Linked DNA regions of Homo sapiens: all the other regions are linked to region 6. The links are contacts of gene promoters, found by promoter capture Hi-C in blood cells and fetal thymus (Javierre and others, 2016). All regions are on one chromosome and are shown on one strand. Each heading gives the region's core, a stretch centred on a gene start or on the middle of the fragment in contact. The rest is flanking DNA. Distances are from core to core; before and after follow the strand shown. Region 1 has its middle 18 kb from the start of TCHHL1. Region 2 has its middle 16 kb from the start of TCHH. Region 3 holds the start of TCHHL1 (trichohyalin like 1). Region 4 has its middle 11 kb from the start of RPTN. Region 5 holds the start of LCE2C (late cornified envelope 2C). Region 6 holds the start of CRNN (cornulin).

Evidence for each region. Contacts are between HindIII fragments. The CHiCAGO score rates a contact against its expected background, and 5 or more counts as called.
Region 1: a contact is called between a fragment that was not itself captured here and the fragment with the promoter of CRNN in region 6, in 2 of 17 cell types (endothelial precursors and total CD4 T cells). The highest score is 6.2, in endothelial precursors.
Region 2: a contact is called between a fragment that was not itself captured here and the fragment with the promoter of CRNN in region 6, in 1 of 17 cell types (M2 macrophages). The highest score is 5.3, in M2 macrophages.
Region 3: a fragment that was not itself captured here is called in contact with the fragment with the promoter of CRNN in region 6 in 11 of 17 cell types (erythroblasts, M1 macrophages, naive CD8 T cells and 8 more); the score reaches 7.8 in erythroblasts.
Region 4: a contact is called between a fragment that was not itself captured here and the fragment with the promoter of CRNN in region 6, in 1 of 17 cell types (non-activated CD4 T cells). The highest score is 5.4, in non-activated CD4 T cells.
Region 5: the fragment with the promoter of LCE2C here is called in contact with the fragment with the promoter of CRNN in region 6 in 3 of 17 cell types (erythroblasts, neutrophils and M0 macrophages); the score reaches 5.6 in erythroblasts.

What each region holds. Positions count from the first base shown.
Region 1 is chr1:152,069,138-152,072,913 of GRCh38, forward strand. No RefSeq gene overlaps it. Among named protein-coding and RNA genes, the nearest start is that of TCHHL1, 18 kb to the right of the region's middle. The HindIII fragment of the contact is 438 bases long and covers 2,211-2,648 here.
Region 2 is chr1:152,129,418-152,133,558 of GRCh38, forward strand. No RefSeq gene overlaps it. Among named protein-coding and RNA genes, the nearest start is that of TCHH, 16 kb to the left of the region's middle. The HindIII fragment of the contact is 4,357 bases long and covers 468-4,141 here.
Region 3 is chr1:152,086,218-152,090,123 of GRCh38, forward strand. It overlaps TCHHL1 (trichohyalin like 1), which reads right to left and starts at 2,847. Exons shown (of 3, transcript NM_001008536.2): 1 at 2,803-2,847; 2 at 1,789-1,946; 3 at 1-1,326. The coding sequence starts at 1,926. The HindIII fragment of the contact is 182 bases long and covers 2,208-2,389 here.
Region 4 is chr1:152,146,481-152,150,413 of GRCh38, forward strand. No RefSeq gene overlaps it. Among named protein-coding and RNA genes, the nearest start is that of RPTN, 11 kb to the right of the region's middle. The HindIII fragment of the contact is 1,115 bases long and covers 1,498-2,612 here.
Region 5 is chr1:152,672,868-152,676,849 of GRCh38, forward strand. It overlaps LCE2C (late cornified envelope 2C), which reads left to right and starts at 2,412. Exons shown (of 2, transcript NM_178429.5): 1 at 2,412-2,461; 2 at 3,128-3,702. The coding sequence starts at 3,149. The coding sequence ends at 3,481. The HindIII fragment of the contact is 8,836 bases long and covers 551-3,982 here.
Region 6 is chr1:152,412,275-152,416,109 of GRCh38, forward strand. CRNN (cornulin) reads right to left here and starts at 1,989. Exons shown (of 3, transcript NM_016190.3): 1 at 1,940-1,989. The HindIII fragment of the contact is 578 bases long and covers 1,641-2,218 here.

The sequences.
Region 1 (3,776 bases), core at 1,180-3,679, 340 kb before region 6:
ATTTGGATATGTTGAGGCTGAAGTGCCCAGTTGCATTAGATGCTTGCTATACTGTGATGTAAAACACAAACATGAGTCTGTCTTAATCCCCACCTGGCCTATTCCTTCGGCGGGTGGTTCTGTGCCTCACGACCCATCTCCCTGTGTCTATCTGCTGTCAAAGCATAAGTTGTTTGCCCTGTGTGAGAGACAACAACTTTTCGTATTTGATGGTGATAGCAGCAAAATGTTGGACACAGGAGAGGATCTGTGGGCTGCAGAGTTGGCGGTCTGTTGAAACGTCACTGCTTGAAAGTTAAAAACCATTTTCAATTTCACCAGCTTATAAATAGTTTCTTTGTTTCTGAAGAAATTATGTATGGGTGGATGTACTCTAACATAATCCTTTATGATACTAAAAATAATTCCCACTCACCTTTTAAAAATTTATCAATTTTTATTTTAAGTTCTGGGGTACATGTGCAGGATGTGCAGGTTTGTTACATAGGTAAACGTGTGCCATGGTGGTTGGCTGCACAGATCAACCCATCACCGAGATATTAAGCCCAGCACCCATTGGCTACTCTTCCTGATGCTCTCCCTCCCACAGCTCCCCCTCCACCCACGTTTACTGCAGACATTCTGTAGGATTCTCTTAGAGATAGCCGGTTCTATCATCTTGTTAATGGCTATGAGGTGAGCAGTACTGGAGAAATCTTTAATAGCCTGTGGATATGACAAAGAGTTTGAAGAGCTATAAAATCAGATAAGTGAATACAGGCAAATGTATTTCCTGAGGAGCATGGTAGCTCTTTTTTTTTTGCTGCTCACCCTGATTTTGAGAATAGCTCCACAAGGAGACACCTTTCCTGTGTGGGGGGATACTGGGGCCATAGGCTACTGCTATTTCCCAAAGCAAAACAAGCCTGGATCCTAAATCTTTTTTACATCTAATTTGGTTTGTTTGTTTTTAAGTCTCCCACATGACTTCTAAAATTGTATGTAATAAAGACACTTTGAGCTTTTCCTGATGTCTGTAATAAAAATATAAAATGTCTTCTCTTCAGTTTCTCTCCTGAACATCCCCATGGCCCTGGGGAGTTTATTTTTCTAGAATGTCTAAAGTGTATTATTTATTCAAAACAAAACAAAACAAAACAAAATAGTTTCTATGAGGAAATATTCTAGATACTTGACTCAATAATATTTCATTATTTTTGAATTTGTGTAGGAAACTCTTTCTTGCCCGTATTCAGACAGCCCAAGGCATGGGTGACTACTGAAGGAGGAGGAGGCAGGTCTTTCTCCCTGTGTGTCTAAAGGGCAGGAGCCTGATGAACTGGCTCCGTGTGGTCATTAGTTGCCGTTAGAGTGATTAATAAGAGTAACAGAGATAATTATAATTCTTGCTTTGAAAAGCCTTGCTTTTGAGAGGAATTATCCTTGTGCAAATGTCTCCCCACCCTCTTGGTAAATCGTCTTTGGCAGCCAGACCTGTAGCTTCTGGGTTTGCCTGTGGTCTCCGGGCTGCTGTTGCTGACACACCTGGTCTGCTGCCCGTCTCTCCTGAGTTTGGCTCATCTGATTCCTGGGCCTTCTTGCTTTTCTCCACTCTTTCTCATTTTCTGATGGTCTCTCTCTGTTCTCTTTTCCGTCTTCCTTTTGTCTTCCCCCCTTTCAACATTTCAATCTCTTTCTGTTTCTCATTGTCCCTTTCTTTGTGTGCCTTTTCTTACCTCTGTCTCTTCTACCTCTCTATTCCCACCCCATTTGTTTCAGACCTGAAGTCTCCATTCAGTTTGATCTTCCCTTTCGTTCTTTTACCTAAAAATTTATTAGTTTCTATCAGGGAAAATAAAAGACAAGTAGATTGAAAATGAATGCATCCAGTTCTTGCTATGAGAAGGGAAAGAGACGCTTACTGTGTGTCCACACCAGGCGATAGCCTGCCATAGTCACACAATGGGGAGGCCTGCTTGGTGCCAGGGCCCATGCTTACCACCCACACTGCCTGTACAAACAGGACATTTTCTGACCCAGAGTCCATGTGCAATGGTGACAGAATGACTTCTGTGGTGACACTCTTCTGATGACGTGGTCTTTGCCCCTCAGCGTCAAGGTTTGTCTTGACACTGCCTGGGAGGAGTTTCCTGGAAAGTGTCCACAGCCATGATTACAGATAAGAGGAGACTGCCAGAGTCATTTGAAGGCATCAAGTTGTCTGTAGGAGAAGCTTGGTGATTGGAGGAGTTGCTGCTGGGGTGGCTATCCTGAGTGCACATTTGGACTTTGCCTGCTCTGTGACCTCAGGCATCTTACCAAATCCCTCTGAGCCTCAGCAGTGGGATCTAGTGGTCACCATTTCTTGGATGTGTCATAAGGATACGGTGTGGCTCAGGGAAGCACTGGATTATAATGTGTTTTAAGCTCATTCTGAAGAAAAGCACCGTGCAAATCCCAGTTATTATGTTTATTATGAGGTTCAGCATGATTAAATGCAAAGAATTTGTTCCATCTGAATGAGGCTTTTAAAAATACACTGGGGCCAGTAATTACAGAAATGTAGGCTCCCCTAAACATGTTCCCAATTAGGAAGGGATGTAACTGAATGAACTGGGGCATGGCGGGGGACTCTCAGATCCTTGACATGTTCTTGGTCAGCTCAGTCAAGCTTTTCTTGATCAGAAAATGGAAAAAAGCAGAAAATTCTCATCCCTTGTGTCTTTCTTAGAAGAAGATAATAAACCCAGTGGCCAAAGAATGTTAACATTTAACTGATTTTCCTTATGTATCAGGACCTTTTTCTGAAACTATGATTGTTAAGGATTTTAAGTAAGACCCAAATCAGTATGGGGTATGATTTTCTTGTTTGTGATTAAAACATATGGAAGTAATTATAGATCTCAAAGTAATTTTTATTTATACACAAATAATACATACGTTCCTGATCCTTGAAAAAATTGAAACATTACTTGATGACATCTAAGACTTCTTTGACTACTACTGTCTCTCCTGATTCCCTTTTACTTTTCTCAGAGGCAATGACCATTATCAGTTTGGTGTTTTTCTTTCTGAGCTTTTCCGTCTTTAGAAGTAGAGAAAACCAAGGTGGACATGGTACGCAAGTCTCCACATGGTTTTCTTCTGTGGTTTAGCCTCATCTCCTGGGCCAGATCATATGCTTCTTGAGACCAGAAACCACATGAACTCCTTGATCTGATTCCACACCACTCCCAGGCCTGGAATAGAATCATGGAGAAGTGAGGGGAATGGTGAGGAACAGTTAACTAAACGCTTGTTTGAGAAAAATTATTGTCCTGCAGTTTACTCAAATAGAGCTAGTAACTCGGCTGGGCAAGTTTCAGATTCTGTGTTTCAAAACCACCTCAACCCACCCAGTGGAAACCAGAATATTCTCATGGCTTTACAAAAACGCCTGAGCTTTAAGCTTGATCTAAAGGGCTCAGCAAAGAAGCATTGCTCCTGAGAGGCTTCCTGTCTGCCTCAAGCTCCCTGTCTCAGCCTCCAGGTAGCCTCATCCTCATGCTCCACTTGCCCAGACATGGACCTCAAAGAAACTCCTGTCCACCTTCTTGGGGGTCCCTTCAGGGGTAGTTGTGTGTCATCAGCCACCCTCAGAGTTGGCTCTGAAACATTCCCCGGTTTCTCCTTCAGTGGTTTGTGGAGGTCAGGAAGAAATGCATGTGATATTTTCTGAAGGTTCTGGACAATCCTAATGTTGTCATGAAGCCTGCTGGCCCCTTTAGGCAACATACACACCCAGACATATATCGATA
Region 2 (4,141 bases), core at 1,396-3,895, 280 kb before region 6:
AACATAATAAACCTATGAGTGTAGTATTCATATTTTGTAGATGAAGACACTGAGGCATAGAAAGGCCAAATGATCTGCTGAAAGTTACATGATAATGAAGGGGTGAGCTGTTATTTGACCCATGCTCTTTTTCACTATGCCGTGCTGTTTTGGGTTTTACTAAAAACTGTTTGGTGGCTACACCTCTTATTTGCATAATTATAATTTCTTACACTTGTGTAGTGATTTATGGATTTAGAACATTTTCAAAAATTTTATTTTATTTTATGTTTGCAACACTGTATGAAGTAGGCACCACAGATAATGATATTCCAACTCTTTTAAATGAGCCCTCCATTCTACTGACGCTCATGAAGTTTAGTGATTTATACAGTGTCCCTCATGTGGTGACAAATTTGTACCATATTCTCTATTATCAAATCATTCTTCCTTAATTATTTTCATTTATGTCATTCTTCTGATAAAAAAGCTTACAGTGACCTTCTATTGCTAAATGTACAATTGTCAGTCAGTTGTAAACTTTCCTTAACAGCTGGCCATCCTCAGCCATTACTCAATCACTCATTTGTTCAACAAGCCTTAATTAAGCACTTGTAATGTGCAAAGAATCAGATATATAAAGAGGAATAATATGTGATCCTAACCTTTTGGGAGATTACAGTGTGGTCAGGGAGTCATCCAGGTCAAGGCATTATTTTAACCCAGGATAATAAAGGCTATGATAGAGGGCATTATGGGAGCTCACTGAAGGGACACTTCACCCATATATTGGGCTTAAGGAAGGTAGCTTAGAGAAGGTGGTGCTTGTGACAAATCCTGTTGGACAAGTTGGGTATATGGTGTGAGGTAGAATGGGATGAGAGCTGAAGTTGGGAGAACTAAGGAGGGGAGATCATGAAGGACTTTATGAGCAAAGGTAAAGAAGGTAGATTTTATCCCACAGGCTATGGAGAACAATTATAGGATATTAGGCAGGAGATGATGACATAATCAGATTTGCATTTTAGAAAGGTCTTTGTAGCAGTAGCATTGAGAATGGGTTGATGGAGGGCAAGGTAGGGTACAGTGAAGTCACTTAGGAATCCTTTGTAGTAAAATAGGTGAGAAATGGAGGGTTGAACTAAGATATTTGCAGTTGGGCTGAGAAAAAAGCATTTGAATTGGAAATCTTTAAGAAATAGAAACCCACAGGGATTGCTGACATATTGGATATAGAAGGTAACGAAGAGGAAATAATTGGGAAGTCTGGGGTTTTGGCTCGAGCAGCTGGGAAGACAGTAGGATTGTATACAGGTAGAAGGATATAGAAGGAGGTGTTCAATTTTGTGCATATTGAGTTTAAGATGCTTGTGAGACACTTTGGTAAAGGGATCCAGGAGGTAGTAGGATATCTAGATCTGAAACTAAGGAGAGAAATCTGGGCTGGAGATATAGATTTGGAAGCCATTAGGAGGAATGTGATAAGAAGATGAGATTGACCAGAGGAAGTGTGTAGGTCAGTGGTTCTCACCTTTAGCTGTGTGTTAGAACCACCTGGGGAACTTCTAAAAATCCAGATTTCCAAGGTCACACCACCGACCTATAAAATTAGAATTTCTAGGAATAGAACCCAAGCACCAGTGTTTCAGAACTCTCCAGATGATAAAGTGGCAGTGAGAGTTGAGAAGCACTCGATTGAAAGGAGCAGGAAATGCCTCATTAAAGGTGACTAAATGAGGGAGAAGCATAAGACATTTCCAGAGGGATAGGAGAGCCTAGAGAGAAGGTAGCATTACTGACACTAAGGGTGTGAGAAGTCAAGAAGAAAGCAATGAGCAGTGCTCTTCTAATCAATCTTCAGTTACTCCTTAACATGGCTCTTTCCTGTAGCCACCTATTCTGTTTGCTTTTTCCTGCCTTTAACTTGGTAGATGCTCATCTGTGTCTCTGCTCAAACTACTCCTGATGCTTAGGATTCCTGCCCTTCTTGAGGATGTCAATCCACATTTAGCCCATACTTAAGGTTTGGCTCAAAATCTCCTCCTCTAAGAAATATCTGATCAATTTTACCCAATTCTAATTACTCTCCTTTAGATACTCCCTTATGCATTTAGTTCTATGTAAAAAATGGCCCAGCTGTGAGACAGTGCCAAGAGTCCTGGACTTAGACTCTGAAGATTTGAGTTCAAGTCCTGGTTCTGCTACATGTTAATAAGCTGGAACATCTTGAGGAAGTCACTAAAGTGCATTAGTTTCTGTATCTATAAGATGTTCATAGCAATAACAACTTTTAAGGATTGATATGAGTTTTGAGAATGTAAAAAGCTACATATGTGGGAGAATGACATCAGCAAGATGGAAGAATAAGAGCTTCCAGCACTCATCTTCTCACAGACACCCATTGAACAATCATCCACACATGAAGATAACTTCTTAAAAGCTAAGGAATCCAAATTAGAGATTATAACACTTGGATGCAGTGCAGAAATAAGAAAAGACACATTGGAGAGGGTAGAAGGGACAGTTTCACATTAATCATGTCATCCCTTACCCAAGCCTGTGCAGCACTGTATGGAGAGATACCCTTCGTATGAGGGAAGGAGAATGAAAGGAGGAATTGACTTTGCCATGGACCTCAGTACCAGGGCAACCTCCATGGGCCCAAGGAGAAGTTTAGCCCCTGCAGACATAAACTCCAGGCTGGCTCTTGCAAACCCAAGCTCCAGGCCTGCCCAGTGCCAGGTCACTGCTTATGGAACCAGGCTCCAGACATGCTCCTTTATACCCAGGCACCAGATGCACCCCAGTGCTAGGCCAGCCCTCATGGTCCCAGACTCTCGGCTAAGCACCTACAGACTCAGGTTCCAGGCTGGTCCCCAGGAACCCAGGCTTCAGTCCTATCCCTGTGGACTCAGGTCAAAGACCTATGCCGGCACCAAGTCAGACGCAAAGGATCCAGGTTCCAGGCTGGCTTCTGCAAACATAGGTGCCAGACTTGCCCATGTGTATCCAAACTCTAGTCATGCCCTAGTGGATGCAGGCACCAGGACCCACATGCCCACTGACCCACACACCAGCGTAGCCCACCAGAGGACTCCAGCATTAAGCCTACCCAAGGACCCTGCCAGCTGGGTCACCCCAAATTTCTAGATGGGCTGACTGATGAAGAGCTTTCTCTGCAAAATCCAGTCTGCAAAGACTGAAAAAGGTGCCTAATTCTTCAAATGTGTGGACATTGACGCAAAGTCCACAGAGATCATGAATAATTGGGGAAACATGACACAACAACAGGAACAAAATAAGGCACTAACAAATAATCCCAAAGAAATGGAAATCTATTAACTGCCAGACAGTTCATAGATTTAAAAATAACCATGAGAATTAAAAAATGATTATCTTAAGCTCAGTGAGCTACAAAAGAACACAGATGGACAACTAAATGAAATTAGAAAAGTAACACATTAACAAAGTGAAAATTTTAGCAAAGAGATAGAAACCATGTATAAGACCCAAACAGAAATTCTGGAGCTAAGGAACACAATGATTGAGCTAAAAAATTCAATAGGAAATTTCAAAAGTAGAGTCAATCAAGCAGAAGAATTAGCAAGCCTGAAGACAAGTTATTTGAAATTACATAATCAGAGGAACAAAAAGAAAAATTAATAAAAAATGGTGAAGAAATCCTGTGCAACTTATAGGACACTATCAAGTGAGGCAATTTATCCATCATAGGATTCCCAGAAGGAGCAGATAAAGAGAATGGGAGAAGAAAGCCTATTTAAAGAAATAACAACAAGCCAGGCACAGTGGCTGATGCCTGTAATCCCAGCATTTTGGGAGGCCAAGGTAGGGGGATTGCCTGAGCTCAGGAGTTTGAGACCAGCCTGGGAAATGTGGTGAAACCCAGTCTCTATCAAACATACAAAAAATTAGCTGGGTGTGGTGGCATGGACCTGTAGTCCCAGCTACTTGGGAGGCTGAGGTGGGAAGATCACTTCAGCCTGAGAGGTGGAGGCTGCAGTGAGCCAGGATCACAGCACTGTACTCCAACCTGGGTGACAGAGTGAGACCTCATCTCAAAAAAAAAAAAAAAAAAAAGAAATAACAACAGAAAACTTCCCAAATCTGGGTAGGGAAATGACTATTCACATATATGAAGCCC
Region 3 (3,906 bases), core at 1,049-3,548, 330 kb before region 6:
TGCAGGTGCGTTTTTGCTGTTCACAAATGCTTCTGCTGTGCCTTCTTTGGTGTGTTCTGCCTCTTCTCCTGAGACTGCTGTTCCTTCAAGTTCAGGGTGAGTCTGATCTCCTCCTTCTGAGCTTAGATATTGTGTCTCAGAACCTTTTTCAGCATCTTTTGATTTTGATAATCCTTGGAGTTCCTGATACTTCCCATCCTGTGTTTGGGTTTCCAGGACTAGTGGCCGAGTTTTTCTGTCACGTTCTTTCTGCCCTGCTGTTCCATGGGCCTCAGGACCTCTCCTCTCTTTCCTTTCATCTCTCATGTCAGATGTTTCTGAACCATTTCTGCTACCATATTGGACTGGCAGGTCCTTTGTTTCACATTCTTTTTCTTGGGTCTCAGATGTTCTGCCATAATCCTCAGGTTCACCCAAATTCTTTGTTTTAGCTGGTGTCTGGTCAGCATCCTTTCCTGGTTCTTGAGTGTCAAACATTCTACAGACATCCTTGGAATCAGTTGATTTCTGTGTCTGAGATGGTGACCTGGCAGCAGCTTGTTCTGGCAGGTCAGCATGCTGTGAACTGGGCTCATCTTCTCTTTGTAGGGGTGGTTCTTGTATATTAGAGTGTTTTTCCTTTTCTGTTCTAACTTCCTGATCTTCACATGGTCTTTGTGTTGCTTCTTTTGGTGGTGAACTTTGGGTTGCCAAGTTTCCTTCCTGTTCTCCAAACTGGTCTCTTATCTTGGAAACACTTTGCTCTCTGGCTGGTTCATCTCCTTCCTGGGAGATCTCCTTATCTTGTCCCTTCCTCTCTGTGGGACTGCTGGTCTTTTTTGATCCTGCCATTGGCTTATTTGTCTTAAGTTGGCCTTCATTGTCTTCTGTTGTTTGTATATCTTGAGCCACTTCCTGACTTTGTTCATCTCCTTCCAGGTGTTTGTTCTTAGGATCATTGTGTTCAGATGCTTCTCCTGGAAAGTTGTGAGTCTTGGCTTCTCTCCATGGGTCCACTCTGTTATTTCCAACTGCTCCACTTTCTTCAGGGATGAGCTGAGATGATGATGCCATTCCTGAAGGAAGCATCCTCTTTTCTTGAGTTGGTGAAGTTCCCACTGTCCACTGACCATCTCCGGTGGTTGCCTGAACATCCACATCATCTAGCTTCTCCTTCTCTGGTTTAGTCACCTGTCTTAGTTCAGAACTTAGTAATGATTTTATGTCAAGATAACAGAGGTTCAACAAGTTGAAGATTGCAAGAACAAATTCATCAAAACTGATGATGCCATTACTGTCAATATTCAGAAGATTTGAATTTTTTTCCACAGCATGAAGGACACAGGGCTGCATGAAAACACAGTGAGAAATCAGCTTATTTATATGTGGTCCAGTGTCCTAAGTGTCTCCCAAGAATCCTATTTTTCTGACCTCATTCCTCAGTAACTGGTTAACTTTCCCAGAACAGCAAGAACTTATTGGTTCTGCAAGCCATTTTTCATCAGAGAGCTATGCCTGAGAAAGAGCATTTACAACACTTGTGAGTTGCATTTTGATGCATAATGGTTTATGACTCCTTTCAGAAGTCAGCTTTGCAGAAGCAATAATCCCAGTGACGAAAACCTCTTTTTCTCTAAGTAATTGCACAGAGTATGGAACTGAGACTGAAAATAGTTGTTCAAGAGACAGTGAGTGCTGAGAACTGTTAGCTAGGTGTAAAATGGATGGGGATCACATATGCTCATCTTGCTTGGATTATAAAGAAAGGGTGAGTTGGAAAGAATTTACACAGCTCTGTGAGAAGCTCACCTGAAAAAAGTCCCCAAACTCGCCCTGGATGAGTTGTTTCAGCTCTCTGCCAGTCAGTGTTGCCCCGTTACTGTCCTCACTGGCATATTTGTGGAATGTCTCAATTACACAGAGGACATTTCTCAGGAGCTGAGGCATCTTTACAAACTCAGGAGAGGCTGTGAGAAAGAATAAACAAAGCTCATTTTCCAGGATGGGTCCTTCAGGGAGGAGATACCAAGATTATCCTTTTTGTTCCTCCCCCATCTCCACTGCAACCCCTGCTCTATTCTGTATCTTAAAATATTATATCTGAACTCCAGGGGTGATTTAGTATTGTACCAGACATTGTGGTGAAATCAGACCCAGCATAGGTAAGTATTAGAAGAGACAATTCACCCCACTCTTCAGTAAACAGCAACATTCATGTGCTCAGAGAAAGCTTCATTGCAAAAGGAAGGTGATAAGAGAACTCAAGCATAAGGATTGAAATGCATAAATGAAGCCAATAGAGTTGGACCCATTCTTCCAGCCTCATCCAAGAGTGTCTATCTGCTCTCCTCTCCCTTTGGCTCAGTCTAGCCTCCTGCGGTTAGGAGGGTATAACCTTTAAAGTTAGCAAAGCTTCTAGTGGAAAGATAAGTCACACCAAGAAAATTAACCCCTATGTTTGCAGGTGGTAACAACATGCTTTAACCAAGAAGACATGATTCCATGTCCCGACCCCTTATTCATTCATTTCCCATCCTTTAAATGCTTCTACATTTTCATTGCAATAGAGATCTGATCCTGTGCCTTGTTGAATAATATTCATGCCTATGACTTCTAAACAATTTATGTTTTTTTTAAAAAGAAAATGATCAAAGAAGTTCCATAATCAAGGAATGCATTTGGGTGGTTGGCGCTCCCAGTTTATTATTATTAATAGGGGTTGACATAGACTTAAAGTGTGTTTCCTTTGAAATCCTCTTGCAATCTCACATATAAGCAAAACAGCAACTGAAATCCCAAGTATGCTCAAGCAGATGGACTTACCTAGTTCACAAGCGAGAGCAGGTAGAACGTGGGGCAGCGGGCTGTGAGCTGACAGCAGGAGCTGGAACCTTTTATTGAGGTCCTAATTGCACAGTTAAGAAGGAGACACCCTCTGGGTCTAATGACCTGACATCACCACCAAATCCAGTCTCCCCTGCTCTGTTGTCAGTTGTCTTAATTTTATTTCCTTCTTTAGGCAGTTTCAATTAAATCTTAGCTTCAGATGCATCAAAAGAAAGGGGAGGGGGTTTCTTGATTCATTTACTGACTTTTGCAGATTATAGTTTTGAAGGCTCTTCAAGGTAGTGTTGGCTTCCCTCCCCCATTTTTTAACCTAAGGACATAATTACATTTCTGTCTGACAAATCATAGTGCTGGCAGGGACCTCATAAGTCATCTGATTCCTCTGTCTGCCCACAAGATGGCCCGTATTTGACCCAAACCTGAGAGATGGGTGTCAATCATGTGTTTAAAAATAAAGGCCCCCATTTAGCCATGTGACAAAAGTGGAGATACCAGTTGATTCAGATGTTTCAATGCTTTGCTCTCCTTGCCCAGAGGCAGAGTTAGAAAAAAAAAAAAATTCTTGCTTGGTGTGCAAAGCCTTGCTTACCTATGTTGTGCTATTTTAAAAACGTGATTGATATTTGCTTTCTAAAGACATTTTTACTATACAAGGAGCTTGAAACCAATAATCTATATTACTGTGTTCTCCCTGTAAAGGGGAAAGGGAGATGTTGAAATCATCAAGCTGAGAACAGAAGTGAGTCTGAGATGCTGAACTGGCAAACATTTTAATTGTCTCCTAGATCTGGGTCCTTCTTAGTAGAGAATATTTAATAAAATAAGAATTAGATTCAATGGTTTTCTTAGATATTTTTAAAAAATAGAGTATGTTTTAAAACACTCCTTGTCAAAGGATGGAAGAAATAGACAGATCAATGCAAACAAATATAAAAGACACAGACCAAGTTAAAGATGGGGTGGGAATGGGGGTAATTATATGAGAAAGCTGAAGCTAAGGGATGCATTGCTATTGAGCAAAAACCTTATTCTGAATTTCCTGATTATCGAGGAACATACAAGGGAACTAAATTTTGGGGA
Region 4 (3,933 bases), core at 805-3,304, 270 kb before region 6:
CCACCAAATATTTACCTGAAATATTCTAGGTGATACAATGAATAAGGCATGAACCTTTTCTTGAAGAAACGTGTATTAGTTTTGTGTTGCTGTAAAGGAGTGCCTGAGACTGGGTAATTCATTTTAAAAAAGAGGCTTATTTGGCTCATGGTTCTGCAGGCTGTACAAGCAGCATGGTGCCAGCATCTACTCTCTTTCTGGTGAGACCCTCAGGAAGCTTACAATCATGGCAGAAGGCAAAGGGAGAACAGGTGCACCACATAGCAAGAGAGAGAGCAAGAGAAAGAGGAGGAGGTGCCAGTCTCCTTTAAACAACAGCTCTCACATGAAGTAACAGAATGAGAACTCATTCATTACCTGGGAGGGCACCAAGCCATTTATGAAGGATATGCTCCTGTGACCCAAACACCTCCCACTAGGCTTCACCTCCAACATTGGGGATCACATTTCAGCATGAAATTTGGAGGGGACAGACATCCAAATCATACCATTTTACCCCTAGCCCACCAAATCTTGTGTTCTTCTCACATTGAAAAATATAATCTTCTCTTCCCAACAGCCCCAGAAAGTCTTAACTCATTCCAATATCAAGTCCAAAGTCCAAAGTCTCTCATGAGACTCAAGACAAGTTCGTTTCACCTATGAGCTTGTAAGATACAAAACAAGTTATTTACTTCCAAGATATAATGGTGGCATAGGCATTGGGTAAACATTCCCACTCCTTGGCTGGGTGTGGTGGCTCATGTCTGTAATCCCAGCACTTTGGGAGGCCAAGACAGGCGGATCACAAGGTCAGGAGTTTGAGACCAGCCTGGCCAACATGATGAAACTCTGTCTCTACTAAAGATATAAAAAATTAGTTGGATGTGGTAGCGCTTGCCTTTAATCCCAGCAATTCAGGAGGCTGAGGCAGGAGAATTGCTTGAACCCAGGAGGTGGAGGTTGCAGTGAGCCAAGATCATGCCACCGCACTCCAGCCTGGGTGACAGGGTGAGACTCCATCTCAAAATAAACAAATAAACAAATAAATAAATAAATAAATAAATAAATAGATAAATAAAAATTCCCACTCCAAAAGGGAGAAATTGGCCCAAAAAAGGGGCAATAGGTCCCACAAAAGTCTGAAACCCAGTAGGGCAGGCATTAAACCCTAAAACTTCAAAATAATCCTTAACTCCATGCCCTACATCCAGGGCACACTGATGCAAAGGGTAGGCTCCCAAGGCCTGGGGCAGCTCTGCACCTGTGGCTTTGCAGAGTGCAGCCCCTGTGACTGCTCTTGTGGGTTAGAATTGAGTGCCTGTGGCTTTTCCAGGCTCAGAATGGAAGCTTCTGGTGGCTCCACCACTTTCAGGTCTGGAGGACAGTGGCCCCATTTCCCACAGCTCCACTAGGCAGTGCCCCAGTGCAGACTCTATGTTGGGGATCTCCAGCCCAATATTTCTCCTTGGATATTCTCTAGTAGAGTGTCTCTGTGGGGACTCTGCACCTCTGGCAAGCTTCTGCCTGGGCACTTGGGCTTTCCCATACATCCTCTGAAATCTAGGTGGAAGCTGCCAAGCCTCCTTAATGCTTGCATTCTGTGCACCTGCAGGCTTAACACCATGTGGACACCTCCAAGACTTATGGCTTGCACTCTCGGGAGCAGGGCCCAAGCTGTACCTGGGGCCCTTAGAGCCCCAGTTGGAGCCAGAGCAGCCTGAACGCAGGGAGCAGTGTCCTGAGGCTTCATGGCACAGCAGTGTCCTGGGCCTGGCCTTTGAAACCATTCTTTCCTCCTAGGCCTCTGGGCCTGTGATGGGAGGAGCTGTCCTGAAGACTTCTCAGATGCCTTTGGGACTTTTTTTCTCATGGTGTTGACTATTAGCAATTTATTTCCATTTAGGCATTCAAATCTGTTTAGCAAGTGGTTGCTCTGCAGCCTGCTCGGATTCCTCTCCTGAAAAGCCTCTTTCCTTCTGTACTACAGGGCCAGCTAGCAAATTTTCTGATTTTTTATGCTCTGATTTCCTTTTAATTACAAGTTCCTACTTTAAGTCACTTCTTTGCTCCCATATCTGATCATAGCCTGTTAGAAGCAGCCACACCATATCTTGAATGCTTTGCTGCTTAGAAATTTCTTCTACCAGATACCCTATGTCATCACTCTTAAGTTCATGCTTCCTTAGATCCCTAGCAGCCAAGCTCTTTGTAACAGTGTAACAAGGGTGACCTTTGCTCCAGTTCCCAAAAAGTTTCTCATTTCCATCTGAGACCTCATCAGCCTGGGCTTCACTGTTCATATTTCAATCAGTATTTTGGTCACAACCACTTAGCAAGTCTTGGAGAAGTTCCAAACTTTCCCTTATCTTCCTGTCTTTTTCTGAGACCTCCAAATTCTTCCAGTATCTGCCCATTACCCAGTTCCAAAGCTGTTTCCACATCTTCAGGTATCTTTATAGCAACACCCTACTCTCAGTACCAATTTTCTGTATTAGTACATTTTGCATTGTTATAAGAAATAATAAAAGACTGGGTAATTTATAAAGAAAGGAGGTTTATTTTGGATCATAGCTCTTCAGATTGTACAAGAAGTGTGATGCCAGCATCTACTTCTGGTGAAAGCATTAGGAAGCTTTTAGTCATGGTGGAAAGTGAAGGGCAAACAGGCATGTCACATGGCAGGAGAGAGAGCAAAAGAGAGAAGGAAGAGGTCCCAGGCTCTTTTAAACAACCAGATCTCACATGACCTCATGGAGTGAGAACTCACTCATTACCACAAGGACATCACCAAGACATTCATGAAGAATCTGCCCCTATGACCCAAATACCGCCCACTAGGCCCCACCTCCAACATTGGGGATCACACTTTAATGTGAGATTTGGAAGAGACACATACCCAAATCATATCAAAATGTATTTGTTAAGCTTCTATTAAAATAATGTAGGAGAAGAAAAGATAATGCATACCAAGTAAATGAACAAGGAGAGATCAGATTATAAATCACTTTTGTATATATCATCTGTATTTATCTCTAAGAAACTTTAGAATTTTTAAACTTTGGAATTTTTTCTTCAGCTTTTATTTTTAGCTTTAGAGGGTACATGTGTAAGTTTGTTACATAGACATATTGCGTGACAGTGAGGTTTGGGGTATGAATCCCATCATCCAGGTGTTGAGCTTAGTACCCAATAGGAAGTTTTTCAATGTACACTCATTTCCCTCCTTCCCCACTCTAGTGGTCCCCAGTGTATATTGTTCCCATCTTTATGTCCATGTGTACTCAGTGTTTAGCTCCCACTTATAAGTGAGAACATGTGGTATTTTGTTTTCTGTTTCTGCATTAATTTGCTTAGAATAATGGCCTGTAGCTGCATCCATATTGCTGCAAAGGACATGATTTTGTTCGTTTTTTATGGCTGTGTAGTATTCCATGGTGTATATGTACTATATTTTCTTTATCCAATCCACCATTGATAGGAATCTAGGTTGATTCCATGTCTTTGCTATTGTGAATAATGCTGCAATAAACATATAAGTGCATGTGTCTTTTTGGTAGAAGTCTTTATTTTCTTTTGGGTATGTACCCAGTAATGGGATATAGCTCTGTTTTAAGTTCTTTGAGAAATCTTCAAACTGCTTACCATGGTGGTTGAATTAATTTATATTCCAACAACAGTGTATAAGTATTCTCTTTTCTCCACAGCCTTGCCAGCATCAGTTATTTGTTGACTTTTTAATAATAGCCATTCTGACTGGTGTGAGATTGTATCTTATTGTGGTTTTGATTTGCATTTCTCTGATGATTAATGATGAGCATTTTTTCATGTTTGTTGGCTGGCTGCTTGTATGTTTTCTTTTGAAAAGTGTTTCTCAAGTCCTTTGCCCATTTTTTAATAGGGTTATTTGTTTTTCTCTTGTTGATTTAAGTTCCTTATAGATATTGAATATTG
Region 5 (3,982 bases), core at 1,162-3,661, 260 kb after region 6:
TGCTTATCTCCCAGTTCTGGTTTCCCAGGGGATCGGGTCCCATTAATTCTTCCATCGCTTATTCAACCACTCAATACAGACGCTCATGTATGTGCATGTTCATTTTACCTGAATTTTTGTATAAATACAACATACACACATACAGAGCACACACCCACATACACACACACACAGACACAGACTTGCCTCCCCTACTTCCTCACTTACCACATTGTTACAAATATCTTTGTCAAAGAGTATGAGGAAGCTGAGGGTGATATCACCATGAAGACAGTGGAATGAACTAACATGTTCTAATCACACTGGGAAATAGTGACTCAGGAGGTTCAGGCCCCAAACGTCATCTTCTTTGGACCTATGTTTGTCTGCAGTCATCTTCAAAAAGGCTACAAAAATTCTACAGTCCTTGAGGTCATGGGCTACTTATTATTCACCTCTATATCCCTATATTTGGACATACATGATTCAAGAACGTTGTAGGCTTTCAAAGAATGCCTTTTGAATTCACTGCTCTGACCACACTGTTGACTTACTTTATCCTTCAGGTAAAAGCTTCCTGAGAGCAGGAATCAGATCTGATAATAGGATTGCATAACTAGGAGAACAGAATCCCTCAGTTAGAAGCTGACAATGGGAAACTATGCTTTCTCCGCATCCTCCCCTCCCCCACTAAGTAGGCATTAGGCAATGTGAAGGCACAGTCTGTTTCTGTTTTAATCAGAGGTGTGAATATCTATTTTTTTCAATTCTAATTTTTAACACCTTTATTGAGATGTAATTAACATATTTGTAGTTCATTTGTTTAAAGTGTAAATTCAATGGTTTTCAGTATATTCACAGAGTTGGACAATCACCACCATAATTTTAGAACATTTTCATTACTTCACAAAGAAAACCTGTATCCATTGGCAGTAACTTCTCAATATCTCCCAGCCCGCTAAAGCACCTGGAAGCCACTGATATTTCTCAGAGGACAGGCATAAACATAAAAGGAGATACAGGGAACAGAATCTCATCCAGGCTCTTGTTCCTCGGATGCCCTGAGTCAGCTCTTCAGGGGTCCAGCCTGGGAGAGGCTGTAACTGGCTAAAGCCTCATCCCCTTTCTATTTCCAGAGATTTGCCTACTCTACACATTTCATATAAATAACATCATACAATATGCAGTCTTTTGTGACTGGCTTCTTTCACGTAGTGTAATGTTTTCAAGGTTCACACTCAATGTATCTGTTTAAACTAAATGAATAAATGACTGGGTAACTCTGTCTAGTGCAACCCTGAATCAGAACTCTGAATAACTAGATTCCTGGCTGACCCTCTACTTCCTGGTAGGAAAGGAGTTCCCTCTGCATAGGAGCCCCAAGAAATGATGTCTACTTCCCAAGACAGGTTTCAAATAATCTAAGTGTCTGGTGGAGTTAAGCTCTCTGAGGGTAAGGGCTCTATATGGGCAATTAATGACACATAAGACCGGGGCAAGTATCCAATACATGGCATTAGTTTTTCTATTAAACATATATTTATTAAGGGTCTATCAGGCACAAAATGTCATACTTAGCTCTTTCTTGCTTCTCACTTTATATTACAAACAGCTCAGTGAGATAGGTATATCTCACTGATAGGTTTATAATGGGCATTATATGTGAGAACTGATACTCACAGTGAGTATCATAGTAATACTCTAGCAATTATTGATAATTGTTACAGCAACTTTCAGAGATTACCCAGTTATCATATGCAAGTTTTCTGATTCCAGTAGCACATTCAATACAAGTCCTCTGACTGAAGGAAATGTTTAGATTTTAGAGGGAATTGTTTATTCTCAATCATTCTCCTTGCTTTAGGTGACAGAATCAACTCAGATTTAATCCACCGAATCTGCTTGCCATGGTGAGTCGGAGGAAAAGCAGAAACACAGAGGCCAGGAGGAAGGGCTGAGAGCCTAGGCAAGGGAGGGATGCCTAGAAAAAGCCAAGGCTGTAGAAGCCCTCTGGGATGGCTGGATCCACAGCAGGACATGGAAGAGAAACTGCTCAGGGTGGAGGGAGTCATAATGGAACATTTCCACAAGGTCAGGGAAAGCTGTGGCTCAGAACTGATGTTTCCTCAGAGGACATGCATTAAAAAAATGCAGGGAACAGAATCTTGTCCAGGTGTGGGTCCCTTGGGTACCCTAAGTTAACTCTTTAGGGTTCCCACCTGGTGGAGGCTCTGACTGGCTACAGCCTCTCTAGACTGCAGCCCCAGAGAGGAGTCCTGGAAGCTCCTGAGGCCTCTTTGGATTGCAGGGACTAAGAGGCAGGAGAATGTCAGGAATGACCCAGCGTGTGCCTGGTTGTGCAAGAGCCACCTCCTGCTCTTTCCAGAGCCAAGCCTGGGCCCTATAAAAGACACATCCAGCTTCAGCATCTCATCTGCTCTGACTCCCCAGGGACGTGTCTGTGCTCCTGCGTGTGACCAGGGTGAGTGGCAACCTGGGATACCAGAGGGGTATGAGCAAGGCAGAGGGATGGGGAGGATGGAGGTAGGCTGGAGAAAGAGTTGTGTGCTTGTGTTCTGCCATACTGAGCAGGAATGGGACTCAGCCTGCCTCGAATCTGTTGAGGCTCTGAGGCCTACCGGAGCTCATATAGGTGGGGAAAGCTAACTGTGCACATCTTTTCCAATTCTGTGTTCAGTGACTTCATGTTGGTAACTTCAAAACTGCTGTGTTGGGCATATTTACACCATGGAAACTGGCAAATACTTCAAGCCAGGCTCTTTTATCTGGAGGTTTCATTGCAAAATATTTTCCAGAGGACCCCTTGGTATGTCCTGCAACACCCAGCTTGTCCTTAGGGCTTGTATTAAAGGAATAGGTACTTCAGGGAGCTGTGAATACTCTATTCGGGCTTGTGAGGATAGAGCAATCGCAGTTTCCCCTGAAAGGAAGAGTAAGAAGCTCATTCTGTTGATTTTTTATCTACGTACTTTTATCTAGAGGAAAGATTCAAGTTGTTTCTTTCAGGTTACTGATGTGATTGTATTATCTAAATATCATTCTTCTTCTACACATGCATTGATTTTAGAAGAGGTATAATATGATCCTTGGTTTGAAATATTTAAAGAGTTTCATTATTATCTTTCAGGTTGACTAAACTCCTGCCAGCATGTCTTGCCAGCAAAACCAGCAGCAGTGCCAGCCCCCTCCCAAGTGTCCTCCCAAGTGTACCCCAAAATGTCCACCTAAGTGTCCCCCCAAATGCCCACCACAGTGCCCAGCTCCATGTTTCCCTGCAGTCTCTTCTTGCTGTGGTCCCAGCTCTGGGAGCTGCTGTGGTCCCAGCTCTGGGGGCTGCTGCAGCTCTGGGGCTGGTGGCTGCTCCCTGAGCCACCACAGGCCCCGTCTCTTCCACCGGCGCCGGCACCAGAGCCCCGACTGCTGTGAGAGTGAACCTTCTGGGGGCTCTGGCTGCTGCCACAGCTCTGGGGGCTGCTGCTGACCTGGGCTACAGAAGAGCTCTTGGGACTGAATGGCCAAGAACCTGCTACGGCCTGATGGATACTCTTTCCACTTCCTCTCATTCCATTCATTGGTTGGCAGAGACCACAAAGACTCATGGGGCTTTCCTGGAAGAACTTCGTGCTTGATGTAACACCCCAATTGCAAGTCTTCTTTTCCTCCTTTACCTCATGTTATAATAAAGCTCTGATCTCTGACTCACTAAATGTCTTGGTCATTCTCTTCTCTTCTGAGATTTCAAATGTCCTCCAAAGGTCAGGGCCTCAGAGTAATTTTCTTCATGAGGCTAGGACAGGACATGAGTAGGTGATACATGAAAAGCTGCTCTGAGGAACTGATTCCCCCAGATGCTGAGTGAATGGAGCTCCAAGAGGGTCACCTCTGGCTATGGTAGCTTTGCCTTTCTCTCCACTAAGCCAGACACATGTTCTAATTTTCTGTGTAATCCAGACGTTGGGAAGGTTGGGAAGCTCTGCAGACT
Region 6 (3,835 bases), core at 739-3,238:
GCTCCATAATCAACCTCAGCTATTTCCTTTATAGCACGTCTGCTGCTAGGTCTTTCCTTGCACGTTCAGCTCTGTTTTTAGTTTTCCTTTGTCCTTTCCTACATAATGCATCTTATGTATGGGAAGGAGGAGCACACAGGATGGAGGCAGGTTCCTGAGTCAGGATTAAATGCTGGCCCCACCACTTAAGTATGGTGTGAGCTGGGACAAGTTGCTTTGCCTCTCCATGCCTCAGTTTACTACTCATTGTAATTGAAGGTGATATTAGTACTCTGTGGGATTATTGTGAAGATTTAAAGACATAATTCATAAAAAGCACTTGGCAGATGCCTGGCTTATATTAAGTGCTCCTTATTAAATATAATTATTATGCTATTATATACATATACACACATATAATTTTTGTACACCTATATAATCACTTTCCTGTACATCATCTCTTCTAATCCTTATTATTTCCACTTTTTTTTATAGGTGAGGAAACAGGCTCAGAGAAGTTAGGCCACACAATTTTTAAGGAGCCAAGAAATCCTAGGATCCATTTTTCCTTAACCCAAATGCAATGGGCTTTCTAGAATGTACCCTGTGGACAGGATTTATTTATTTATCACAAGGGTGTTAGGGTCCCATCGGGAACACCAAAAGGAAGTAAATACATCTGTGAGTCAACCCCTGTCTTGGATGGGAGCCAAGCAGAAATTCCAGGGACACAGCCCTCCCTTCTTGTTTTTTTTGGGAAAGTGGGAAGAAACTGGGCTACCACCTGCTGGGAATGCTCAGGAGGGGGGAACCTTCTTTGGGTGGGAGGCCTTCCAGTTCTGAGGGTCCAAGTTTCTCTGCATGTCGCCTCTGTCCACAGCCCTGAGACTTATCAGAGAAGTCAGCTTGCCCAACAGGCACGTGGCTCCATCAGGCCCAGATTTCTGGTGACCTATGAGTTGGTTCCTAATCAAAGGGAAAGCTTTTCTTTTTCATTAGCCAGAAATCTAGAGGTAGGTTGAGGTGAGGCCTGGGTTTGGTTGCATGAGCAAAAGGAAAAGAGACTTGAAGATTCATTAAGCAGAAGCCTTGGAGAGACCCAAAGGAGGAGATGGTATCAAAGATGACAAGTCTCAAATGCAAGGGGAGATGGAGCCTGTAGCAGCTGGAAAGCCAGAGAGAGGATGGGACGAGGCAGATATAGGTAGGAGAAGAAAGAGAAAAAAGGAAGGAAGGAGACTTGAGTTCTAGAAAAAGCAGATTAGTGTGGCCATGAGGACTCAGTAAGTCATAGCAAAAGGTGGGCTGTTCAGGAGAAACCCTTTCTAGGACCTGGTAACCAACAATTTCAGGCAAACTTTTCATCAAGGTAAAAAACTGGGGATGTTTTCCTCAACATAGATGAAAAATATCTTTCTTTTTTTTTAAAACCATGTAGCAGACTTTAACCACTGACCTTTAGATAATAAAATAATAAGATGACCTTTTAGTTACATTTTAGATTCCTTAGAAAAATCTACACATATTTTGCCTAAATATCACCCTGGTGTAGGAGAGGGGAATCATGTAAACCCCTTCATCCATGACACAGTTTGATCTTATTGTCTAGGTTGGCATAAGTAAACTGATTCTGATCCCATAGACTCTCAGCACTGCAAAGAAGCTTCCAGAGCCTTAGAAAAAAGAAACCTTTGCTGATCCAGGAAGGCACATGGGTGGCCCCATAGCCGCTGCCCACACAGTTTCCCAGTGAGAGGAGCTGCTCCCAGGCCAGCCTCAGGGAGGAGGAGAAAGCCTGATTGCTTCAGGAGAGCATGTTTCCCAACGGTAGCGTTGGTTTGCCCAGTGCTCACAGCTAGCTCTGAAGGATGCATAGTCCATACCTGACTGCCCCAGTTTTATGAGCTCAGATCACCAAGACACTGAGAATGAGAAAGAGGTTTCTTATGAGGGGACTTACCTAATGCCCAGGTGGGATGAAACAAGTGGCTGTTAAGTGGTGTGAGGAGTACCAGGTCAGTGTGATGAGAACCTTTTATAGGGGTTTTAACCAAGGCTCTTGTTTTAGACAGGATATCCTGCCCTATGGGAAGGCTTGATTCATCCAAGATCCAGCCCAGCCCAGCCACACCTCCTCTTGTCTCTGTTTTACCTGCTGATGTGTGACTGCCTTGGTCTAATTAACAGGCCCCTCCTACCACATTTGGTACCTTCTGTAGCTGAGTCCTCTTGACAGGGAAGCTTCTTTCCATTGTGATGGGCTCAGCAGTGCTTGGTACAGGCTGGGGTCCTGGTGAACATTCTTTGTCTCTATGAGCCTACAAAGTTATGGGACTCTTTCCTTTTTTTTTTTTTTTTTTTTTTGAGATGGAGTCCTGCTCTGTCGCCCAGGCTGGAGTGCAGTGGTGCGATCTTGGCTCACTGCAACCTCCGCCTCCTGGGTTCAAGCAATTCCCTGCCTCAGACTCCTGAGTAGCTGGGATTACAGGTGCCTGCCACCATGCCCAGTTAATTTTTGTATTTTTAGTAGAGACAGGGTTTCACCATGTTGAACAGGCTGATCTTGAACTCCTGACCTCATGATTCACCTGCCTCTGCCTCCCAAAGTGCTGGGATTATAGGTGTGAGCCACCGTGCCTGGCCACTGTTTCCTTTTTTAATATAAATGTTCAAGAATATATCTATTGAGGTTAACTTTTACAAAGTAGCCACTCTGAGAGGGCACACATGTTTTTGTGGTGATGTTACTTAGAACTGTTATTACTTAGAACATTTTTTGAATTCTTGTTTTGTAAGTGCCTTTCACACCTAGTGTATGAGACACAAGAAAGCCAGTTTCATCTCTTTAAAGTTGGTCTCATTTTTAATTAAAACAAAAAAAGTTAATACCTTCCCCACCCCATGCTATGGGTAGGTAGCATTTTGTAGCTGATGAGAAAAAAGGCTTACCATGATCATGTGGTAACTCCTCATTGCAAGGACAGGAAACTCAACTGGTGGCTAATCAGCAAATATTTATGGAAAGCTTGCTCCATTTCAGGCAGAGGGCTAAGGCCCTAGGAATACAGTGTTGAATACGATGGCAGCAGTTTCAACTCTCATGAAGTCTATAGCCTGGCCATCCCAGGGGTAAGTCCCCAAGAGGTTAATGATAATGGTATTGCCATTTCATTTCATTTGATTTTATTCCATTTTCATTACCATCTCATCTTATTTGATCTCCCTAGCAATCCTCTGAGGTGGTATGGCTAAGCCCAATTCATAAATGAGAACACTGAGAAATCCTCAGAGAAGTAGCCACTCTGTGAAGCGGAGACGGTGCTGGACTAGAGCCCCTCAGACTCCAGGCCTGTGTTCTCTCTGTTGCACCATGCTGCCATTTATTCTTCTCTCATTGAGTTTTGGCACCTTATGAACATCACACTTATCCTCAATGCATGAAGAACCATTCCTGAGGAGGAAGTTTTCTGAGCTCAGAAGCCAAGTCCCAAAGAGTGCTCTTGAGTGGCACTTTGCAGATAATATATACTGTGTAGCTTCCTGAGTGACTCTGGAAGGGAAAGCCATCTTTACCATCCTCACTTATAGATCAGCATGCAACAGACAGGAAAGGGAACAACAGGATAGGAAGGCATGGTAAGGGCCTTGGTTGAAGAGACTGGTGTATTGAGGGCAGCCCTGTAGCAACAGCACAGCCTCCAGCACTTCCCCTCAGGGCACAGAGCACTGGGGAGTTCCAGACTGCAGGAGGGCAGGATGCAGGCTTTGTGTTTGGAGAGATCTGTCTACATGGGGACAGGTTGGCTCCAGTCCTGGGGTGAAGGTGGGGTAGGCATACCAGCCAGGGAAAAGCAGA